Linked DNA regions of Homo sapiens: region 1 is linked to region 2. Evidence: promoter capture Hi-C in human tissues and cell types (Jung and others, 2019). All regions are on one chromosome and are shown on one strand. Each heading gives the region's core, a stretch centred on a gene start or on the middle of the fragment in contact. The rest is flanking DNA. Distances are from core to core; before and after follow the strand shown.

Region 1 (2,700 bases), core at 48-2,547, 1.0 Mb after region 2:
GAAATCTAGAGCTTATTGTTGGAAGGATGCAGTCTTGCAAGCCTGCTGTGATCCAAACGGCCGACTGAGTTACCAACAATCACCCCCACTTCTGGTTATCTCTTTTACCTAATAAATTTGGAGGGCTGAAAAAGCTCAGGGCCCTTGTCCACTAGAGGCAAGATGCCCCCTGGCCCCTTCTTCCAAATATACTCTCTTGTCTTTTTCTTTTATTCCCGCGTTCACCCGCTTTGTTCAGTCCACCAGGGATTGAGGTCGGTTACAACACACAAACTGTAAACCTTGGCAACATCAACACAGTGCTAACTAAAAGTGTGCAGAGGGCATGAGATGTGGACTCACGGTTACTTCCATCTAGATTTCAAAGAATGCCTCAGAGATCCTTGGAGCCTAGGCATAAAAATGCCATAGGAGTGAGGCTGTCCCTGGAAGTCCCCACTAAGGCAATGCTCAGTCTAGCTGTGGAGGTGGGGCCAACTTCAGAGAGTCCCTGTTAGGATAAGGTCCAGTAAAGCCCTGGGAGCAGGGCCACCTTTGAGACCCCAAAACTGTAGAGTCACCGGTATGTGATTCCAGCTCGGGAGAGCTGCAGGCACTGTGAGAACTTCCATGTGGGGTGATCCCAACAAAACCACTAGGGCAGGGATCCCCAGGATGTTGGGACCCAACCTCTACTCCAGGATGTCTAGAAGGTGGGACACGGAGTCAAAGATTATTGTCAAGCCTTAGTGTTTAATGTGTATGCCCTGTTGGGTTTCAGCCTTACATGGGAACAGCTACCCCTTCTTTCCTGTTTCTCCCTTTTGGAATTGAAATATTTAACCTGTGTCTGCCCCACCATTGTATTTTGGAAGCACATAACTCGTTTGCTTTCATAGGTTCACAACTAGAAAGCAGTTTGCCTTTGGATGAAATGCATGTTTGAGTCTCACCCATATCTGATTTAGATTATAGTTAGATACAACTCTAGACTATAGGCTTTTGAATTGGTTGTAGAAATAAAGCTTTGGGAGCCATTAGGATAGAATGTATTTTGTTTGTGAGAAGTATATCAATTTTGGGGGCCAGGGGTGGAATGTTACAGTCTGAGTTTTTTTTTTTTTTCTCCTCCACAATTCATGTTGAAACTTAATCCCCAGTGCCTAATCTTTAAATGTTATGAGTCGTGGCCTTTAGGAGGAGATTGGATCATGAGAAGTCTGCCTTTATCAGTGGGTATGGTGTTCTCGTCAATGAGATATCAAAAGGCTTATTCTACGGAGTTCACTGCTTTTTGCCCTTTCTGTCCCTTCTGCCATGTGGGGACAACAGCATTCGTCCCCTGTGCAGCAACAAGACCATCTTGGAAGCGAGGATCATCTCTCACCAGACATCAGTCCTGCTGGCACCTTGATCTTGGATTTCCCCAGCCAGCAGAATCATGAGAAATACATTTCTATTGTTCATAAATTACCCAGTCTGTTTTACTTGGTACAGCAGCACAGAGAGACTAAGACATACCGTAACCATAATTTAACCATTTGTTTCTTTTGATTCAAGACTGATTCTCAGACATCTGGATTTAGATGCCTGCTCTGCCATTTTCAGGTTGTTGACCTAGGTGACTTTTTAGCGTTTTCTGTGACATAGTTGTCTCCTAGTAACATGGGAACAAATCTCTCTATCTCTCTATCTATTATGTTATTATTTGAATTAGAACATGTAAAGCATTTGGAGTAATGCCCAGCACATGGGGAGTGTTCCAAAACTTCAGTCATTGCTGTTGCTGTGGTCATCACAGTTTTTAGTTTCTGACCTTTCTTTAAAGCTTCTATGGACATTGTCATCTCCAAGACACCACTTGTATACTAGCTCATCTGGACACTCAGTTGATATATTGAACATAATATCTAATACTTATACAGATAACCACGTGTTCATTTCTTTGTATATTTCTTGCATTGTACACAAAAATGAGAAGCCTACACTGATTTACGGGATATCATAATCTTCTATTGAATTTTAAAACAAACTTAAATTAGGGACACATAACCTTCTCACAGATGCCTTGCATGGATATGTGAAAACACACAATCAAATTGATGTGACAGTTCTCTCCTCTTCTCATTTTATGTATAGATAAGAGCTCTCCCATTGCTCATGTTGAAATGTGTTTTTCATTTCAGGGACCTTTGACATTCAGGGATGTAGCCATAGAATTCTCTCAGGAGGAGTGGAAATCCCTGGACCCTGTGCAGAAAGCTTTGTACTGGGATGTGATGTTGGAGAACTACAGGAACCTGGTCTTCCTGGGTAAGGATAATTTTGCTCTAGAAGTTAAGATCTGCCCTCGTGTATTTTTGTATTTTCTCTGTTGTCTTTCTTGGGAGCCCTTCCATTATTTGACTGAGACTGAAGCCTTGTTGACTCACAAATAAAAAGCTTCATAATGCTGCATCTGGCCTTTCATTTCCCATATCATCACACTATCCCCTTTTTGAATGTCTTCCCTTGTTGTCCTGTGCCCTTAGTAGAATTCCCATATTTAAGTATTAGTCAGTATAATGGTACTTTTTTTTTTTTTTTTTTTTAATGGAGACAGAGTCTAGCTTTGTCTCCCAGGCTGGAGTGCAGTGGCGTGAACCCAACTCACTGCAACCTCCGCCTTCTGAGTTCAAGCAATTCTCCTACCTCAGCCTCCTGAGTAGCTGGGACTACAGG
Region 2 (2,700 bases), core at 128-2,627:
TTCCTAGTAAGATAGGAAAAGATCTTTTTCTCATGGGCTATTATGTTGTTATTTGAGTTAATACAGGTAAAGTATTCCGAATAATGCCTTGCACATAGTGTTCAGAAAAGTCAGTCATTGCTATTGCCATTATCATCACAGTTTTTACTTCTGGCCAGTGTTTCTGTAAAGCCACTGTGGACCTTGTCACCTCAGAAGACATCATTCGTGCTTTAGCTTATCTAGATACGGAGTATCACTTAGTGTGTTGAAAATAATATCTAACACTTCTATAGAGATCAGCTTGTGTTTGGGTTTTTATTTGTCTATTTATTGTATTGTCCACAAAACTGAAAACTCCACACAGATTTAGAGGCTATTATAACTACTTAGGGAAAAGTACAATAAAACAGAATTAGGGAGACATAACTTGCTCAAAAATGCCTTCACGCTGGGGCGGTGGCTCAGTGAGCCGAGATCATGCCATTGCATTCCAGCCTGGGCGACAAGAGCAAGACTCTTGTCTAAAAAAAAAAAAAAAAAAAAAAAAACAACAACAAACCTCACATATTCGTATTTAAGAATATAGGAAACACTGATTCAGTTTCTTCTACTGTTCTCTCACAACACAGAATGCTACAGTTAGCCCAGAGGTACTGGGTTTTCCCACACACACCAAGCAAGCAATCCTGCCACAGACACCAGGTGCGTGTTCTCTCATTCCGTTCCATTTTGCCGGGACATGGCATCAGATCCCACACGTTGAGGGCTCAGTCCCACAATAGTGCACACATTTCAATGCCAGTCTCAAGCAGAGGTTGTGACTTGTGCTTACAGATCAGATATAAATCCAGGAGTCCCTTGACCCCCTCCTCAGGTTCAACGAATTTGCTAGAGTGGCTCACAAAATACAGGGAAACACTTTACATAGATTTACGTATTATAAAGGATATTACAAAGTTGACAGAAGAACAGCCAGATGGAAGGGATCAGTGAGGTGAGGCATGGGAGAAGGGGCGTTGAGCCTTGGTGCCCTCCCTGGGTGCACCACGCTGCAGGAGCCTCCCAGTGTTCACCTATCCAGAAGCTCCGCTGAATCCTCTCCTTTTGGGTTGTTATGGCGCCTTCATTACATATGCATGATTGCTTATATTACTGGCCATTGGTTAAACTTTTAGATAGCCTAAGTTTTGTTTTTTTTTTTTTTTGGGAGAGACGAAGTCTCACTCTGTCACCCAGGCTGGAGTGCAATGGCGCGATATCGGCTCATTGCAACCTCCGCCTCCAGGGTTCAGGCCCCGCCCCGGCCCCGCCCACCCTATGCTCTCAGTCCCTCCCAACGCCTGGCCTTTCCCCACCGCAACCCGCCCCTTTGCCTACTGCGCGGGCAGTTTCTTGCAAACCCGGAAGCAGATCTCTTGGAGTGAAGGCTGTTAGTCGCCGCGTGAGTTTCCCTCTATCTAGATTAAACCTGCGTTTCGGAGTCCCCTGCTCCTCCGTACCCGATGTCCGGGGGTTCGTATAGCCCTTAAAGTCCCCGCACGGCTCCCTCCATTCCATGTAAATTCAGACTTTGCCGCGAGACTCTGGGGGTCGCATCGCTTTGGGTTAAAATCACACAGGCTGGTCCTGCCCGCGGTCTTTCGGCCTTCAGACCATGCAGACACCTCCTTTCCTGCGCCGTTTCCTGCTTAAAACCCTTTACTGACCTGCGCCCTGTGAAGTCCTCATCTGCGAAGTGGGTGCAGGATTTTACCGTCCCCTAACCTCGCCCTAGTCAGCTACTGGAGCGTTAGCGCCGCAGCCCCAGTCCCGGGGAGGCCGCGCCTCTGCCTGGTCCTGGGATCCTGCATACCCCACCCCTCTCCTAAGGCGCCGTCGCCCCCCACCTCCCTCCTCCTCGTGCCGGGCCCTGCTGCTCCCTAGGCCTCCCCTTCGCAGTCACCGTTTCCCCTGAGCCCGCGTTGGGGAGGTGCCCGGGCCTTGTCCTGTGATACCCGGTGTTCTTGCCTGCCCAGCTCCACCCGCTGGAAAATGTGCTCCTCCAGGATCCAGGTGTCTTACTCCAAACCCTCCCTGTGAATGTGTGGGCCAAGGGGATCAGGAGACAGAGAGGGGGGCTGAGAGAAAAGTAGAAAAACGGAGACAGAGGAAAGAATGAGGGAAACCAGTAAACATGGCAAAGTAGAGGATGGGTCAGGATTTACAAAGAGACAGTAAGGGTGAAAGAAGTCGCTGAGAAAGTAACAGGATGGAGAAACAACTGGAGAAATGTAGAGAAAAGCTCGCTGTCTAGAGAGATGAAGGACAGCAAGGTAGGGAGAGGGGCAGCTCCTCAGACGGAGAGTTAGGGAGAGGAGGGGGTATTTGGAGCCAGGATAGACAGAGCAGCGTGGTGCTGGGACAGCAAGAAGGGGCAGCTGGTGACAAGGAGAGCAGAGGGAGAACCACAGCAGGGGGAGACCTGGGATCTGGGGGTGCCAAAGAGTGGGGACAAGGAAGTGAAACAGGGAAGAGGGGATTTAACAGGGAGAGCAGAGATAAGGGAAGAAAGAGGCAGAAATAGATGGAGATTGGGGACAACCAAAAGACGGGTGAAAGAGGAATAAGAGGTGAAACAAGTTGCAAGAATGGAACAGAACAAGTGGAAGAGAAGGATAGAGGGAAGGAGAAACAGCAGGAGAAGAGAGGGGCTCAAAATGAGGAGCAGAGACCCAGGCT

What was found. Contacts are between HindIII fragments. The study calls those that stand out against the background at their distance.
Region 1: a fragment that was not itself captured here is called in contact with the fragment with the promoter of ZNF665 in region 2 in 1 of the 25 tissues and cell types used here (spleen).

The regions. Positions count from the first base shown.
Region 1 is chr19:52,160,057-52,162,756 of GRCh38, reverse strand. ZNF836 (zinc finger protein 836) reads left to right here. Exons shown (of 5, transcript NM_001102657.3): 4 at 2,166-2,292. Among named protein-coding and RNA genes, the nearest start is that of ZNF836, 10 kb to the left of the region's middle. The HindIII fragment of the contact is 3,609 bases long and covers 1-2,700 here.
Region 2 is chr19:53,192,035-53,194,734 of GRCh38, reverse strand. ZNF665 (zinc finger protein 665) reads left to right here and starts at 1,377. Exons shown (of 4, transcript NM_024733.5): 1 at 1,377-1,423. RefSeq lists an enhancer at 1,412-1,561. The HindIII fragment of the contact is 23,654 bases long and covers 1-2,700 here.